Regions from separate parts of the Homo sapiens genome. Here regions 1, 3, 4 and 5 are each linked to region 2. The links are contacts of gene promoters, found by promoter capture Hi-C in blood cells and fetal thymus (Javierre and others, 2016). All regions are on one chromosome and are shown on one strand. The core of a region is centred on a gene start or on the middle of the fragment in contact, and the rest is flanking DNA. Distances in the headings are between cores, read along the strand shown. Region 1 overlaps PDCD11 (programmed cell death 11). Region 2 holds the start of CNNM2 (cyclin and CBS domain divalent metal cation transport mediator 2). Region 3 overlaps PCGF6 (polycomb group ring finger 6). Region 4 has its middle 6.6 kb from the start of RPEL1. Region 5 has its middle 13 kb from the start of RPEL1.

The links. The method cuts DNA at HindIII sites, captures the fragments that hold promoters and counts their contacts. A CHiCAGO score of 5 or more calls a contact.
Region 1: a fragment that was not itself captured here is called in contact with the fragment with the promoter of CNNM2 in region 2 in 1 of 17 cell types (neutrophils); the score reaches 5.7 in neutrophils.
Region 3: a contact is called between a fragment that was not itself captured here and the fragment with the promoter of CNNM2 in region 2, in 6 of 17 cell types (endothelial precursors, M0 macrophages, erythroblasts and 3 more). The highest score is 10.8, in endothelial precursors.
Region 4: a contact is called between a fragment that was not itself captured here and the fragment with the promoter of CNNM2 in region 2, in 17 of 17 cell types (naive B cells, erythroblasts, endothelial precursors and 14 more). The highest score is 24.7, in naive B cells.
Region 5: a fragment that was not itself captured here is called in contact with the fragment with the promoter of CNNM2 in region 2 in 7 of 17 cell types (megakaryocytes, endothelial precursors, erythroblasts and 4 more); the score reaches 11.1 in megakaryocytes.

Annotation. Positions count from the first base shown.
Region 1 is chr10:103,417,676-103,421,172 of GRCh38, forward strand. PDCD11 (programmed cell death 11) reads left to right here. Exons shown (of 36, transcript NM_014976.2): 14 at 117-257; 15 at 765-959; 16 at 1,863-2,033. Among named protein-coding and RNA genes, the nearest start is that of PDCD11, 23 kb to the left of the region's middle. The HindIII fragment of the contact is 7,810 bases long and covers 1-3,497 here.
Region 2 is chr10:102,916,939-102,920,512 of GRCh38, forward strand. CNNM2 (cyclin and CBS domain divalent metal cation transport mediator 2) reads left to right here and starts at 1,356. Exons shown (of 8, transcript NM_017649.5): 1 at 1,356-3,163. The coding sequence starts at 1,543. LOC107984265 (a long non-coding RNA gene) reads right to left here and starts at 1,397. Exons shown (of 3, transcript NR_160733.1): 1 at 1,230-1,397. RefSeq lists enhancers at 309-995, 996-1,682 and silencers at 1,152-1,331, 1,942-2,031. The HindIII fragment of the contact is 7,117 bases long and covers 1-3,574 here.
Region 3 is chr10:103,317,725-103,320,921 of GRCh38, forward strand. The region is part of intron 8 of PCGF6 (polycomb group ring finger 6); the gene reads right to left. Among named protein-coding and RNA genes, the nearest start is that of PCGF6, 32 kb to the right of the region's middle. The HindIII fragment of the contact is 3,787 bases long and covers 1-3,197 here.
Region 4 is chr10:103,237,611-103,240,955 of GRCh38, forward strand. No RefSeq gene overlaps it. Among named protein-coding and RNA genes, the nearest start is that of RPEL1, 6.6 kb to the right of the region's middle. RefSeq lists an enhancer at 2,683-2,782. The HindIII fragment of the contact is 1,597 bases long and covers 1,231-2,827 here.
Region 5 is chr10:103,257,589-103,260,910 of GRCh38, forward strand. No RefSeq gene overlaps it. Among named protein-coding and RNA genes, the nearest start is that of RPEL1, 13 kb to the left of the region's middle. The HindIII fragment of the contact is 4,680 bases long and covers 1-3,322 here.

The sequences.
Region 1 (3,497 bases), core at 832-3,331, 500 kb after region 2:
TGATCCAAAGGCTCGGTAGATCTCCCAAGTCCTCTGCAGCAGTAGTGGAGGGCACGTTGCAGGGCCTGCAAGGCTTGCTGGGAGGAGTTGGCCAAGCCTGTGTGGTTTCTTGCCAGGTGGTGAAGGTTGTCGTATTGAACTGTGAGCCATCCAAAGAGAGGATGCTCTTATCCTTCAAGCTGTCGAGTGATCCAGAGCCAAAGAAAGAGCCTGCAGGACACAGTCAGAAGAAAGGAAAAGCCATTAACATTGGGCAGGTACGTGGACTTCTCTGGACAAGCTATTTTATGTTACAGTGGCAGAGAGCAGGGAACCACTAACACATGGCATATTGGAACCCACGAAGCGGAAAGATAGAGGTAGCTAGATAAGATTTTGGGGCTAGAGGGGTTCATACGCATTCCTTCCTGTGTGTCAGAACAAATGGAAGCTGTCCCTGAAAGTCCTGTTACAGTGAGGCTTTTCAGCAGTGGGCTGCTGACCTCTTTCCTCTCGGGTCCCTAGGGCCAGCCTGCAGTTCTGGCTTTCCTGGGGCTCCGTGGAGGGACTTGAGAGAGGAGTGCGATGGGTCCACCCATGAGTCCTGGTGAATGTGCACGTACATGCATGCTGGGTGGTTGGGGTGGTGGGTGGGGTTTGGAAGAAAGCTGCCTCTTAGAGATCCTTGGTGCCGGAGTTTAATGCCTCCAAGCCCTGCCTAATCCAGACCAGGTTGTTCTCTGTTCATGACAAGTGCTATTTTTGTCTTTCTCTTCCCTGGGTAGTTGGTAGATGTGAAGGTTTTAGAGAAGACCAAAGATGGGCTGGAGGTGGCTGTCCTGCCCCACAACATCCGTGCTTTCCTCCCCACATCTCATCTGTCGGACCACGTTGCCAACGGCCCATTGTTACATCATTGGCTCCAGGCAGGTGACATCCTTCACCGAGTCCTGTGTCTGAGCCAGAGCGAGGGGCGTGTTGTATCCTTGACTGGTATCTGTGGAGCAGAGGAAGGTGGGGGGCCATGGGTGCTTGGATGGGAAATTCTGGGGAAATTAGACAGCTATTTGACCTCAGAAATATCTCCACAAAACCAAACCAGTGATGAAGCCTGTGCTATGGAAAGTAAGAGCAGGCCTGAGTAAGTGCTGCCAGCAGATGCTGGTGGTCAGGGCGGAGTAGCCTGAAAGGTTGCAGAGAGGGGGACTCTCGGAGGCTGGAGAAGGAGGCCCAGTGGGGTGCTTGGGAGCACATCTAGTTTTCTTGGGGCTTTCAGTGCCTGCCCCTTGGGTTAGAACCAATAATAAGGTGGCTTCTGTCCCCCTTTCCTCTTTTTTTTTTTCCCCTATGCCTTCTCCCCGCGGGGCTATAGGCTCAGGAATATTCCCTTTGGTCTTTGCATGGGTGCTTTGAAGGAGCTTCTCACAGAATGTAAAGTTCATTCTCCTGGGAGTAAAAATGGGCAGAGGAGGGAAAATGAGTTCATCAGTGTAAAGAGGGAGTAGTAGAGGATTGTGTGATGGCTGATCCAGCTGCCAGACCAGGGGGATGAGCCATCCCTTTTTGGTGTCCTCTAGTAATCTGCAGATTAGTGAATCGGGAATGGAATAAAACCGTGATTCTCAGCTGTAGTGTGCAGTTGGGCCATGCAGATGGCTGGGCCACACCAAAGTTTCTAATTCAGTAGGTCTAGGTGGTGCTTGAGAACTTGCATTTCTCCTAAGTTTCAGGCGATGTTGATGCTGCTGGTCTGCACACTTAGAGAATCGCTGTAGCAGCAGAGATCAGCCTGCAGTTCTGTCCTTCTCTGTGGAGAAAGGAGATGGGAGAGATGGACATTTCATCTGCCCTTTCTGGAACATTCCTTGATGAAGTACCACTAGCTTCTTTGCAGGAAGCCAGCCTTGGTCTCCACAGTAGAAGGTGGCCAGGATCCCAAGAACTTCTCAGAAATCCATCCTGGAATGCTGCTCATTGGTTTTGTGAAGAGCATCAAGGACTATGGCGTGTTCATCCAGTTCCCCTCAGGTCTTAGCGGACTGGCCCCAAAAGCTGTAAGTTCAACTCCATGTACAAGGGCTTTGAGGAGAGATACAAGGTCACAGAACCTGAGGGCGGGTAGGGAGGAGTAGGATACTTTATTCCTTTTTTTTTTGAGACAGTCTTGTTCTGTCGCCCAGGCTGGCTTGCAGTGGTGTGATCTCTGCTCGCTGTAACCTCCGCCTCCTGGGCTCAAGCGATTTTCCTGCTTCTGCCTTCCAAGTAGCTGGGATTACAGGTGCCCACCAACATGCCAGGCTTTTTTTTTTTTTTTTTTTTGAGTAGTAGAGACAGAGTTTTACCATGTTGGCCAGGCTGGTCTTGAACTCCTGACCTTAAGTGATCCACCTGCCTCGGCCTCCCAAAGTGCTGCGATTACAGGTGTGAGCCACCGCACCTGGCCAAGGATACTTTACTCTTTTGAAAGATTTTCAGGGGTACCTCTTAAGGTGTGTGTGACATAAAGGCACCTGGGAGGGGTGAGTGCAGCTGAGCTTTTGGCCCATGTTCCTCTCGCCCAGCTGTGTGACCATCTGGAGGAAGGGACACCTTTCCCACTCCACACTACACATTGAAGGCCTTAGTCTCCAGTGTGAAGATGACTGCACTTGTTTTTATTCTCTCAGCACACTTAGACAGGGAAATTGATCATCCTGAGCTACTGAGTACAGGTTTTGCAGACTTCTGAGGTTTTTGAGGTGTTAAGGGACCAGAATGTCTTTGAAATTATTACCTCCCCCACCCCCATGTCATTGAGTCCTGCACTTTCAGATGGGAACAATCCCAGCAGTCCCCTAGCAGAGCCTCCTGGTGTGCCTGGCACGTCAGCCGAGGCCTATTGAGGGGATGGGACTCACCAAAGTCATGGAAGACAGCGAGCAAATGGCGTGCAGCTGATTGCTGCTGCAGATCATTCATCAGTATTTCTTCCCCTCTGTAGGCCTGTCTCCCTGGTGTTTTGCCTGGGAAAATCTCATTTGCATCCCCTGCCAGAAACATTTTAAAAATGGGAGCAGAGGGGAGGGCCCCAGAAACAAGCCCAGTGAGGGGCAGAGGGTTCCCGTGGGTTGTTAGGGGTGAGGACAGCCCTGGTGTCTGCCTGGCTTGCTGTGAATGTGCCTTCTTGACTGGGTGCCCTCTCCTGGAGGCTCTGTTTTTTTTGTTGTTGTTGTTTGTTTTTGTTTTTGTTTTTTTTTTTTGAGATGGAGTCTCACTCTGTCGCCCAGGCTGGAGTGCAGTGGCGCAATCTCGGCTTACAGCAACCTCTGCCTCCCGGATTCAAGTGATTCTCCTGCCCCAGCCTCCCGAGTAGCTGGAATTGCAGGTGCATGCCACCACTCCTGGCTAATTTTTGTATTTTTAGTAGAGTCAGGGTTTCACCATGTTGGTCAGGCTGGTCTGGAACTCCTGACCCCATGATCTGCCCGCCTCGGCCTCCCGAAGTGCTGGGATTACAGGCGTGAGCCACTGCTCCCAGC
Region 2 (3,574 bases), core at 106-2,605:
TGGCGCGATCTCGGCTCACTGCAAGCTCCGCCTCCCGGGTTCACGCCATTCTCCTGCCTCAGCCTCTCCGAGTAGCTGGGACTACAGGCGCCCGCCACCATGCCCGGTTAATTTTTTGTATTTTTAGTAGAGACGGGGTTTCACCGTGGTCTACGATCTCCTGACCTCATGCTCCGCCCGCCTCGGCCTCCCAAAGTACTGGGATTACAAGCGTGAGCCACCAACGCCCGGCCTGAATGTTTTAAGTTTCAAGGAAAAGACCAATTTGGCAGCTACTCTGCTACCTCGTCACCTCCAGGTGACGTTGGGAGTACTGGGGAGCTAGGTTTCCAGAACTTTTTGCTCTTGAGTGACCTAAGACCCTAGCAGAGTTTGGTCAGTGTGATTAAGAATGAGCCTCTGTGGGTCTGTTTAGGATGCTTGCCCCCTCCCATTTCCTTAACTTGCCTGAATTCCTGCTGGGAATACAGATTCGGGGCCCTTCCCACTCTGTAAATATGGGAAAAGGTCTAGGAAGTATATACTCCTAGCAATAATATGTAGGGGTTCTATGACTAGGAAATTTGGGGAACTGTCCCCCTGACCGCTCCATCCGTAACTTCTGCACACCTTTTGGGGTACGCCGCCGACCTGGAAAGCGTTGCAGGGCGCTCATGCTGCCCGCAGGTGGCGCCACGTGATCGCGAGCCGCAGAGAGCCCGTACCCTAGGAGTCTCGAGGCGCGAGGACTGCTGGTCCGCAGCTGTGCCGGGGCCACCGACGCCGCTTACCCCGGCGGAGCGCCGCGCAGGTGGAGTTGGGGACAGCGGCCGGTGCCCCGGCTTTTTAGGCTGTGTGCATCCCAAGCCGCCTCTAGTTGGCTTCTCGGGCTTCCGGGGCAGGAGGGCGCGCGGCTTTGTGCCTACGAATTGAGAACTGGAGAGCCAGTAACCGGTGCACCGGGAACCTGCCGCCTTGCGCCGCAGGGCTTTAGTCCAAACCTGGCCGGTCCAGGCTCCGGGATCTACTACAGGGGCCCCTGGGGAGCGCGGGCCCCAGGGACGGCTCCTTCCCATTGGCAGCAGGACGGATGCCACGCCCCTTTTTCTTCAGCTCTCATCTTTGACTGGCTCTCGAGTCCCAGATGGCCACGCCCCCTCCCCTCGCACATACACAAGAGTCACGCGCCTTTCAGTTGGAAACTTGGCGTGCAGACGGGGACGGTGGCTCTCGTCGCCCCACCCACTTACCTTGCCATTGGTCCGCGGAGCGGCACACGGTCACGCCCCCATTCCAGCCCCCTGGCTGGGAGGGCGGGCACCCGCTTGTGATTGGCTGGTCGGCCTGCCTCTCGCGGGAGCAGCCGGCGCTCCTCTCCCTCCCTCTTTCCCTCCCGCGAGCCTCGGGGTTCCTCAGCTGGCTGAGGTGGAGTCAGTGTCAGTCAGGGAGGCGAACTGCTGAGCACTGGCCGCGGACGCTCCGTTGCAGTCTCGCCCAGGGGCCGGTACCTGCGCTCGCGCCGCCGGGTTGAAAGGATGAAGCCGCAGCTGGAGCAGCCACCCTATGATTGGCTGTGGCGCTTGTGAACCCAAAGTAAAGATGGCGGGCGGGCAGGCAGCCGCCGCACTGCCCACTTGGAAGATGGCGGCGCGCCGCAGCCTCAGCGCTCGCGGCCGGGGGATCCTGCAGGCGGCTGCGGGGCGGCTGCTGCCGCTGCTCCTGCTGAGCTGCTGCTGCGGTGCGGGCGGCTGCGCAGCGGTGGGCGAGAATGAGGAGACGGTGATCATCGGGCTGCGACTGGAGGACACGAACGACGTGTCGTTCATGGAAGGGGGGGCGCTGCGGGTGAGCGAACGGACCCGGGTCAAGCTGCGGGTGTACGGGCAGAACATCAATAACGAGACGTGGTCCCGCATCGCCTTCACCGAGCACGAGCGGCGGCGCCACAGCCCGGGGGAGCGCGGGCTGGGGGGCCCCGCGCCGCCAGAGCCGGACAGCGGCCCCCAGCGATGCGGCATCCGCACCTCAGACATCATCATCTTGCCCCACATCATTCTCAACCGCCGCACCTCGGGCATCATCGAGATCGAGATCAAACCGCTACGCAAGATGGAGAAGAGCAAGTCCTATTACCTGTGCACGTCGCTCTCCACGCCCGCCCTGGGCGCCGGCGGCTCGGGGTCCACGGGTGGCGCCGTCGGGGGCAAGGGTGGCTCGGGGGTGGCCGGGCTCCCGCCGCCCCCGTGGGCCGAGACCACCTGGATTTACCACGACGGCGAGGACACCAAGATGATCGTAGGCGAAGAGAAGAAGTTCCTGCTGCCCTTCTGGCTGCAGGTGATCTTCATTTCGCTGCTGCTGTGCCTGTCGGGCATGTTCAGCGGCCTCAACCTGGGGCTCATGGCCCTGGACCCGATGGAGCTGCGCATCGTGCAGAACTGCGGCACGGAGAAGGAGAAGAATTACGCCAAGCGCATCGAGCCGGTGCGCAGGCAGGGCAACTACCTGCTGTGCTCACTGCTGCTGGGCAACGTGCTGGTCAACACCACGCTCACCATCCTGCTCGACGACATCGCCGGCTCGGGCCTCGTGGCCGTGGTAGTCTCCACCATCGGTATCGTCATCTTCGGAGAGATCGTGCCCCAGGCCATCTGCTCCCGGCATGGCCTGGCTGTGGGGGCCAACACCATCTTCCTCACCAAGTTTTTCATGATGATGACCTTCCCCGCTTCCTACCCGGTCAGCAAGCTGCTGGACTGCGTCCTGGGCCAGGAGATAGGCACCGTCTATAACCGGGAAAAACTGCTGGAGATGCTCCGGGTCACCGATCCCTACAACGACCTCGTTAAGGAGGAGCTGAACATCATCCAAGGGGCGCTGGAGCTCCGCACCAAGACGGTGGAGGACGTGATGACCCCACTCCGGGACTGCTTCATGATCACCGGCGAAGCCATCCTGGACTTCAACACCATGTCTGAGATCATGGAGAGCGGCTACACCCGCATTCCAGTGTTTGAAGGGGAGCGCTCCAATATCGTGGACCTGCTGTTTGTCAAAGACTTGGCCTTCGTGGATCCCGATGACTGTACCCCCCTGAAAACCATCACCAAATTTTATAACCACCCCTTGCACTTTGTTTTCAATGACACCAAGTTGGACGCTATGCTGGAAGAATTTAAGAAAGGTGGGAAATTTTGGTCTCTTTCATTGGCTTGCTCTTTCTCTCTCCATCCTCCTCCCTACTTGAGTCCTCTACCCTCAGACCAACCCCCCAAGGCGAGTTGACCGGGATTTCTCCTTCTCCCTCTTAATTGCAAAGTTGAAAGGGTGGCGTGGATTTGGGGATGGATTGAACTAGTAAGTGCTACTAGGTTATTTTAAAGCACAAGACTGCCATCACTTACTTTTTCCCATTATCAAAAAGCAGGCTGTGTAATTTCTGTGCATGACACTTATTTATTTTTTTTTTTTTGGTCCCGTGTGTGGGCCTCTGTTCTTGAGGGGTCTGCCGCCTTCATTGTCTGGGTTCTCAGTGAGTAGGTGAAGGTAGGGGCTGGCTGATGCCATGCCATTTGGTGGACTTTAATCACAGGCA
Region 3 (3,197 bases), core at 364-2,863, 400 kb after region 2:
AATCCTAGCCCCTAGAGGGTGGTCAGTTTCTTTTTTCTGTTTTTTTTTTGAGACAGAGTTTCGCTCTTGTTGTCCAGGCTGGAGGGCAATGACGCAACCTTGGCTCACTGCAAACTCTGCCTCTCCTGGGTTCAAGCAATTCTCCTGCCTCAGCCTCCCAAGTAGCTGGGATTACAGGCATGCATCACCACGCATGGCTAATTTTGTATTTTTAGTAGACACGGGGTTTCTCATCTTGGTCAGACTGGTCTCGAACTCCCGAACTCAGGCAATCCGCCCACTTCAGCCTCCCAAAGTGCTGGGATTACAGGCATGAGCCACCGCACCCAGCTGGGGTTGGTCAGTTTCTAAGAGTTTGATGTGTATGGTCCTAGAACACTATGTGTGCATGTGGGTTTTTCTGTTATTCATTTTTTGCTTTAAAAAAAATGGGATCAACTGGGTGCGGTGGCTCACGCCTGTAATCCCAGCACTTTGGGAGGCCGAGACGGGCAGATCACCTGAGGTCAGGAGTTCGAGACCAGCTTGGCCAACATGGCAAAACCCTGTCTCTACAAAAAATACAAAAATAAGCTGGGTGTGGTGGCAGACACCTGTAATCCCAGCTACTCAGGAGGCTGAGGCAGGAGGATCACTCAAACCTGGGAGTCAGAAGTTGTAGTGAACCGAGATCGCGCCACTGCACTCTAGCCTGGGTAACAGAGGGAGACTCCATCTCAAAAAAAAAAAAAGAAAAAAGTGCGGGTGCGGTGGCGCACACCTGTAATCCTAGCACTTTGGGAGGCTGAGGCAGGCGGATCACAAGGTCAGCAGTTCAAGACCAGCCTGGCCAAGATGGTAAAACCCTGTCTCTACCAAAAATACAAAAAAATTAGCCGGGCATGGTGGCGGTCGCCTGTAATCCCAGCTACTCAGGAGGCTGAGGCAGAGAATGGCTTGAACCTGGGAGGCAGAGGCTGCAGTGAGCTGAGATGGCACCACTGCACTCCAGCCTGGGCGACAGAGCGAGACTCTGTCTGAAAAAAAAAAAGAAAAAAGAAAAAAAAAGTTGGTTTTGTTGGCACTCGCTGTCTAACAACTACCAAATTGCAGTTAGAAAACTTTTCACATTAGTGTAGGAAACTTTTTGCAGGCCTAGTTCCTCGATAGCCAAAGGCCAGCTTTGTAAGCAGGCCCTTCTAACGACAGCAGCCTCAAGGCTGATACGTTAACTCTTTTGTGCATAATATCTTACCCTCTGGAGTATCAAGAAGAGATAACAAAAATATTTTTGAATCTCAGAGCAGAAATCAGACCATGAAAGTAGTCTTATTAAAAGGAGAAAAAGTCCTCATCTTTTTAAAAGCAAGATCATGCTAGAGCTTCCAAGTTAAGATTTTTCAATCAGTGTGCTTTGATAAGCCACACTGGCTCATTCCTTTGATCATACATACTCTTCTTTTCGAGATGGAGTCTCACTCTGCCGCCCAGGCTGGAATGCAGTGGTGGGATCTCGGCTCACTGCCACCTCCGCCTCCTGGGTTCAAGCGATTCTCCTGCCTCAGCCTCCTGAGTAGCTGAGACTACAGGCGTACCACCATGCCCAGCTAATTTTTTTTTTGTATTTTTAGTAGAGACGGGGTTTCACCATGTTGGCCAGGATGGTCTCGATCTCTTGACCTTGTGATGTGCCCGCCTCGGCCTCCCAAAGTGCTGGGATTACAAGCGTGAGCCACCGGACCTGGCCATACATACTCTTCTTTGCTACTAAGTTCTTTTTTTCTGTGTCTGGCAAATTCCTATTTGTTCTTCAAACCCATTCCTGAGTTAAATCATTCACTTTTGTGTTATCTCCACTGTTGCATTCATTACATCCTATTGTTAGTTAGTTGTTTACTTATATATCTTTCCTACAAAATTCTGAGTCCCCTGATGGCATGAATTTTGTCTCATCTTTGTACTCCTAAGGTCAAATACATAGACCCTCAATTTAGTAACAATATATAATAAATGGTATGGAAACATCATATATTAGTCCTTAAAAAATTATTTGGAAACTAAATTTAATAGAAGGCTTAATATCATACACCAAATAAGTAATAATAATAACCTAACTTTTTTGAGATGGAGTCTTGCTCTGTCGCCAGGCTGTAGTGCAGTGGTGCGATCTCGGCTCACCGCAACCTCCACCTCCTGGATTCATGTGATTCTCCTGCCTCATCTTCCCGAGTAGCTGGGACTATACAGGTGCATACCACCATGCCCAGCTAATTTTTGTATTTTTAGTAGAGATGGGGTTTCACCATGTGGGCCAGGATGGTCTCCATCTCTTGACCTCGTGATCCGCCCGCCTCAGCCTCCCAAAATGCTGAGATTACAGGTATGAGCCACCATGCCTGGCCAGCCTAACTTTTAAGATGGAATTAGTTATGGCAGGATTAACAAAATCAAATATCACATCTTATAGAAGAATTTTTAGTGATCAATGTGAGGTGTATGTTCTAAATTTCATCTCATAAAAGCAAAATAAGGTCTGAATATCAAACAAAGCAAAATACAATAAGACATCAAAGAGTAAATACCACTAAATCAACCACAGTAACCCTGAGACACTGGAGTCTCTATGAGAAAGAAACATATTTGGATAATTATTGATCTCTAAATTTTAAATGAACTTAAATCTTTCTTAAGAACACATGATGGCCGGGCGCGGTGGCTCACACTTGTAATCCCAGCACTTTGGGAGGCCGAGGTGGGCAGATTGCCTGAGGCTGGGAGTTCAAGACCAGCCTGGCCAACATGGAGAAACTCTGTCTACTAAAAAAACTAGAAAATTAGCCAGGCATGGTGGCGCATGCCTGTAATCCCAGCTACTCAGGAGGCTGAGGCAGGATAATCGCTTGAACCCAGGAGGCGGAGGTTGCGGTGAGCCGACATCATCGCACCATTGCACTCCATCCTGGGCAAAAACAGTGAAACTTTGTCTCAAAAAAAAAAAGATCTGTATTTTTTAAACTTTTGGAATTGTCTTGTTTTTAAAATTTGATCTGCCACAAAAAACTTTAAAGTTTAACAGTCCCGTGGGAATTACTCGTTCCTGTTAGTAAATAACCATAAATGAAGGTCACATATCTGTAAACCATGCACACATTTCCCACCTGGGACTAACTGGTTCAAAGAAAGTCAGCATAGCAGGCTCGTGACTGCAGGACACCAAG
Region 4 (3,345 bases), core at 779-3,278, 320 kb after region 2:
CTGTCGCCCAGGCTGGAGTGCAGTGGCGCAATCTCAGCTCACTGCAAGCTCCGCTTCCCGGGTTCACGCCATTCTCCTGCTTCAGCCTCCCAAGTAGCTGGGACTACAGGTCCCCACCACCACGCCCAGCTAATTTTTTGTATTTTTAGTAGAGACGAGGTTTCACCGTATTAGCCAGGTTGGTCTCGACCTCCTGACCTCGTGATCCGCCCACCTCGGCCTCCCAAAGTGTCGGGATTACGGGCGTGAGCCACCAGGCCCGGCCAGGCCCTGTCTCTAAAAAAAAAAGACTGGGTGCAGTCTTTTTTTTACGCCTGTAATCCCAACACTTTGAGAGGCCAAAGCAGACAGATAGATCACCTAAGGTCAGGAGTTCAAGACCAGCCTGGCCAACATGGCGAAAACCCATCTCTACTAAAAATACAAAAAGTAGCCAGGATTGGTGGTGGGCACTTGTAGTCCCAGCTACTCGGGAGGCTGAGGCATGAGAATCATTTGAACCTGGGAGGCAGAAGTTGCTATGAGCTAAGATTGCACCACTACCTTTCAGCCTGGGTGACAGAGTGAGACTCCGTCTCAAAAAAAAAAAAAAGGAACAAAGAGAGTGCTTTGCAAACGAAGGAAGAACAAAAGAACAACAGAGGTTCCAGAAGACAGGAGTAGTTCATAGTGTCAAATGCCACACAAAGTGCAAGCAAAATAGCAATTGAAAACTACCTGCAGCCGGGTGCGGTGGCTCACGCCTGTAATCCCAGCACTTTGGGAGGCCCAGGCAGGCGGATCACCTGAGGCTAGAAGTTCAAGACCAGCCTGGCCAACATGGTGAAACCCTGTCTCTACTAAAAAATATACACAAAATTATCTGGGCATGGTGGCGGGCGCCTGTAGTCCCAGCTACTTGAGAGGCTGAGGCAGGAGAATTGCTTGAACCCGGGAGGCTGAGGCTGCAGTGAACCGAGATCGTGCCATTGCACTCCAGCCTGGGCAACAAGAGTGAAATTCCATCTCAAAAACAAACAAACAAAGAAACAAACAAAAAGCTACTTGCTAGATTGTGCAATTAGGAGGTTGCTGTGGCCTTGGGAAGAACAACTGGAGAGGTGGGGCCAGAAATGGAGTTAAGGGTGAGTGGGTAGCAAACAGGGCCTGCTCTTTTGATAAGCTCTGCTGTGAAGTGAACTTCCAAGACTGGCTTATAGCTAGAGAGAGGTACCTTTCTGAGGTGAGAGAAGCTTGACTGTTTATGTATGGAAGGAAAAGCCAGAAAGGAGAGAGTGAGGATGGAGGGAAGTGTGCTGCTGAGGATGGAGCCGAGCGCCGAGGAATTGGGAAGGATGGAATCCAGCACACACTGAGGGACTGGCCTCAGACAGCAAGAGGAGCACCACCCTGTGGACAAGAATGAAGAAAGGAGGCACTCATGGGCTGGGGTTTGGGAAAGAGATACAGGGAGCTGGGAGTAGGGGAAGGGAGTAAACCGATGGCAAGGAAGTTCCGGCCAGAGACCAGTTTGTTGGCATTTCTGAGCTGGACAATCATGACAAGGTCCAGGGCGTGCCTGACTGAGGCAGTTACGTCACTAGAGTTAGAAGGTCAAGAATTCTGAAATGGATAATCCTCGGGAACAGGTCTAGGGTGGAGAAAAAGTCTGGTAGGATCTATCCTCAGAGACAGATCAAGAGAAAGCTGTTTCTTGGCCTCCCACACAAACACATTGGGATTTTAAAAAATATTTCTTAGTCCTAGCTCATAACTTACCTAACTACTTTTGCCACAGTGTAAACCCATAGCTTCCTCAAGAAAAGATCAAACATTTAGAAAAAGTTAGACTGAAACTGTGAAGCAGGAGTCTGCCTGATAAATGTGGCTCTGTCCACTACATAATGGGTTTAATCTACATTTCCTTTTTTTTTTTTTTTTTTTTTTGTTGAGACAGGGTCTTGCTCTGTTGCCCAGGGTGGAGTGCAGTGGCACAATCACAGCTCACTGCAACCTTGACTTCCTGGGTTTCAGCGATCCTCCCACCTCAGCCTCCTGAGTAGCTGGGACTACAGGCAGGTGCCACCATGCCCATCTAATTTTTTTTTTTTTGGGGGGGGGACAAAGTCTCGCTCTGTTGCCAGGCTGGAGCACAGTGGCACGATCCCGGCTTACTGCAACCTCCACCACCTGGGTTCAAGCGATTCTCCTGCCTCGGCCTCCTGAGTAGCTGGGATTACAGGCACGCCCCACCATGCCCAGCTAATTTTTGTATTTTTAGTAGAGATGGGATTTCACCATGTTGGCCAGGATGGTCTCGATCTCTTCACCTCTTGATCCGCCTGCCTCAGTCTCCCAAAGTGCTGGGATTACAGGTGTGAGCCACTGTGCCCGGCCTTTTTTTATTTTCTGTAGGGATGAGGTCTCACTATGTTGCCCAGGTTGGTCTCAAACTCCTAGGCTCAAACCATTCTCCCGCCTTGGTCTCCCAAAGTGCTGGGATTACAGGCGTGAGCCACCATGCCTGGCCTTAATCTACTTTTCTGATTTAGACTATGACCTGGTCTCCATTCATTCTTCATTCATTCATTCATTCATTCATTCATTCAGCAACATGCATTAAATGCCCTCTCCCTGCCAGGTATTTTGCTAGGCTCTGGGGATTCAAAATGAAACATCCATGGTCCTTAGGGAGTTCACAAACAAGTGAAGGAGCCAATAATTAGCTCTGACGACATAAGAAGATACTATAGCAGAGGTGGGTAGAAAGTGCAATGGATCACGTGGACACAGAGAAAGCAACCTGGATTCGGGGAAAGCAGCACAGAAGAGCTGATGTGTGAGACGAAGCTTAAAGGAGAAGCAGAGTGCACCAGGCTGCAAAATGCAGGAAGTGAGAAAGGTGTGACTACCCAGATACAGTCAGGAAACTCAACAATCTGGTTTGGCAGAGCAGTAGTTCTTAAACTGTATTCTACACAAAAATCAGCCCCGGTATCATTAAAATGCAGGTTCCGAGGTATCAGCAACAGCTGGCTCAGTAGTTCTGGAGCACAGGAATTTGCATTTTCCATTCAGTAGGTCTCGTGCCCAGGAATCATGTCCTGAATGATTCTGAAGAAGATGGTCCACAGACTACACTGAGAAACACTGGGCTAGAGTACGGGGCACATGGCAGGAGGAAGGAGAGGGGATTGGGATGAAGAAGAAAATTATTTTTATTTTTATTTTTTGAGACAGAGTCTTGCTCTGTCGCCCAGGCTAGAGTGCAGTAGCGTAATCTCAGCTCACTGCAACCTCCACCTCCCGGATTCCAGCGATTCTCCTGCCTCAGCCTCCCAAGTAGTTGGGACTACGGGCGTGCAC
Region 5 (3,322 bases), core at 510-3,009, 340 kb after region 2:
CGGGGTTTCACCATATTGGCCAGATTGGTCTCAAACTCCTGACCTCAGGTCATCCTCTGGCTTCGGCCTCCCAAAGTGCTGGGATTACAGGAGTGAGCCACCGCGCCTGGCATATAGTTTTAAAGAAGATTTTAAATAGCCTTATAAACTGGGAAAAGAAACCCATAGTTCAGGAGTTGAGGCACTTTCTCTTGGTGTAGAGACAACTGGTGCAATGGAGAACACAGTACAAGGTCTTGAGTTAGAAACCTAAATTTATGACCTTGGGCAAGTCCCTTGACCTCTCTCCCTTTTTTACTTTTATCCACAGAATAAAAATATCAATGGTCACCTCACAGGATTCTTGTGAAAATGTTGTTTATATTAGGAAGTAGGATGTAAATGCTAGATTCTTTGGTAATGCACATCCTTTACTCTCACTTTCTTCTTCACTTTCTTTCCTTCCCACTTTCCTTCTTTTTTTCTGGTCCTACCTTTTTTCTCCTCTGTCTGTGTTTTGGGCCCACCAGGGGCCCCCTATAGCACTACAAGTGAAACCAGTGGGGTCTAAGTCATAACACTTCTTATAAAGAAGGATTGCACCAGGACCAGCCCACATAGCCAAATTCCTTTTTCTGTTGTCCCCAGAAAGCCACGTTAAGGACTCCCTTGCTGTTCTAAGCAGACTGCTTCTTTCACACATTTCCTCCCACCACCCAATGAAGGGCAGGGGCTGTGCTTTACATATTACATCTTTGTAACCCCCTCCCCTCCCTTACTGCACAAGGCTTTCCAAATAGTCTTTAGATGTCAACCTTGGATGCAGATTTTAACACACACATATTCTGCATTTTTTTTTTTTTTTTGAGACGGAGTTTCGGTCTTGTTGCCCAGGCTGGAGTGCAATGGCGTGATCTCGGCTCACTGCAACCTCTGCCTCCTGGGTTCAAGTGATTCTCCTGCCTCAGCCTCCCAAGTAGCCGGGATTACAGGCATGTGCCACCACGCCTGGCTAATTCTGTTTTTTTTTTTTAGTAGAGACAGGGTTTCACCATGTTGGCCAGGCTGGTCTCAAACTCCCGACCTCAGGTGATCTGCCTGCCTCGGCCTCCCAAAGTGCTGGGATTACAGGCATGAGCCACCATGCCTGGCCCATATTCTGCATTTTAATACACATTCTACATGTTGCCAGTAGATATTTGATATGGCTTGGCTCTGCCCCCACCCAAATCTCATCTTGAATTCCCACATGTTATGGGAGGAACATGGTGGGAGGTGATTGAATCATGGGGGTGGGTCTTTCTTGTGCTGTTCTGATGATAATGAGTAAGTCTCACAAGATCTGATGGTTTTAAAAAATGGGAGTTTCCCTGAACAAGCTCTCCACTCTTGTCTGCTGCCATGTGAGACATGCCTTTTACCTTCCGCCATGATTGTGAGGCCTCCCCACCCATGTGAAACTGTAAGTCCAATAAACCTCTTTCTTTAGTAAATTGTCCAGTCTCGGGTATGTCTTTATCAGCAGTGTGAAAATGGACTAATACAGTAAATTGGTACCGAGAGTGGGGTGCTACTGAAAAGATACCCGAAAATGTGGAAGCAACTTTGGAACTGGGTAACAGGCAGAGGTTGGAATAATTTGGAGGGCTCAGAAGAAGACAGGAAAATGTGGGAAAGTTTGGAACTCCCTAGAGACTTGTTGAATGGCTTTGACCAATATGCTGATAATGATATGGACAATGAAATCCAGGCTGAGATGGTCTCAGATGGAGATGAGGAAGTTATTGGGAACTAGAGCAAAGGTGACTCTTGTTATGTTTTAGCAAAGAGACTGGTGGCATTTTGCCCCTGCCCTGGAGATTTGTGGAACTTTGAACTTGAGAAAGGTGATTTAGGGTTTCTGGCAGAAGAAATTTCTAAGCAGCAAAGCATTCAAGAGGTGACTTGGGTGTTGTTAAAAGCATTCAGTTTTAAAAGGGAAACAGAGCATAAAAGTTTGCAAAATTTGTAGTCTGACAAGCAATAAAGAAGAAAAACCCATTTTCTGAGGAGCAATTCAAGCCAGCTGCAGAAATTTGCTTAAGTAATAAGGAGCCTAATATTAATCTCTGACAGTGGGAAAAATGTCTCCAGGGCAGGTCAGAGGTCCTCACAGCAGACCCCCCACCCCCAATCACAGGCCTGGAGGTTTAGGAGAAAAAAAATAGTTTAGTGGGCCAGGCCCAGGGTCCCTCTGATGTGTGCAGTCTAGGGACTTTGTGCCCTGCAACCCAGCTGCTGCAGCTGTGACTAAAAGGGGCCAAGTTGCAGCTCAGGTTGTTGCTTTAGAGGGTGGAAGCCCCAAGCCCTGGCAGCTTCTACGTGGTGTTGAGCCTGCAGGTGAACAGAAGTCAAGAATTGAGGTTTGGGAACCTCTGCCTAGATTTCAGAAAATGTATGGAAATGTCTGAATGCCCAGGCAGAAGTTTGCTGCAGGGGCGGGGCCCTCATGGAGAACCTCTTCTAGGACAGTGCAGAAGGGAAATGTGGGGTCCAAGCCCCCATGTAGAGTCCCTGCTGGAGCACCACCTAGTGGAGCTGTGAGAAGAGGGCCACCATCCTCCAGACTCCAGAATAGATCAACCGACAGCTTGCACTTTGCACCTGGAAAAATCGGACATTCAACATCAGCCTGTGAAAGCAGCCAAGAGGGCGGATATACCCTGCAAAACCACAGAGGCAGAGCTTCCCAAAGCCATGGGAGCCTACCTCTCGCATCAGCATGTCCTGGAAGTGAGTCACAGAGTCAAAGGAGATCATTTTGGAGCTTTAAGATATGACTGGGGGCCGGGCGTGGTAGATCACACCTGTAATCCCAGCACTTTGGGAGGCTGAGGCAGGTGGATCATGAGGTCAGGAGATCAAGACCACCCTGGCTAACACAGTGAAACCCCATCTCTACTAAAAATACAAAAAATTAGCCGGGCGTGGTGGTGGGTGCCTGTAGTCCCAGCTACTCTGGAGGCTGAGGCAGGAGAATAGTGTGAACCCAGGAGGCGGAGCTTGCAGCGAGCCGAGATCCTGCCACTGCACTCCAGCCTGGGCGACAGACCGAGACTCCATCACACACACACACACACACAAAAGATATGACTGCCCCACTGGATTTCAAACTTGCCTAGGGCCTGTAGCCCCTTTGTTTTGGCCAATTTCTCCAATTTGCAACAACTGTATTTACCCAGTGCCTGTACCCCCATTATATGTAGGAAGTAACTAACTTGTTTTTGATTTTACAGGTTCATAGGCAGACAGGACTTGCCTTGTCTCAGATGAGACTTTGGACTGTGGACTTTGGAGTAAATGC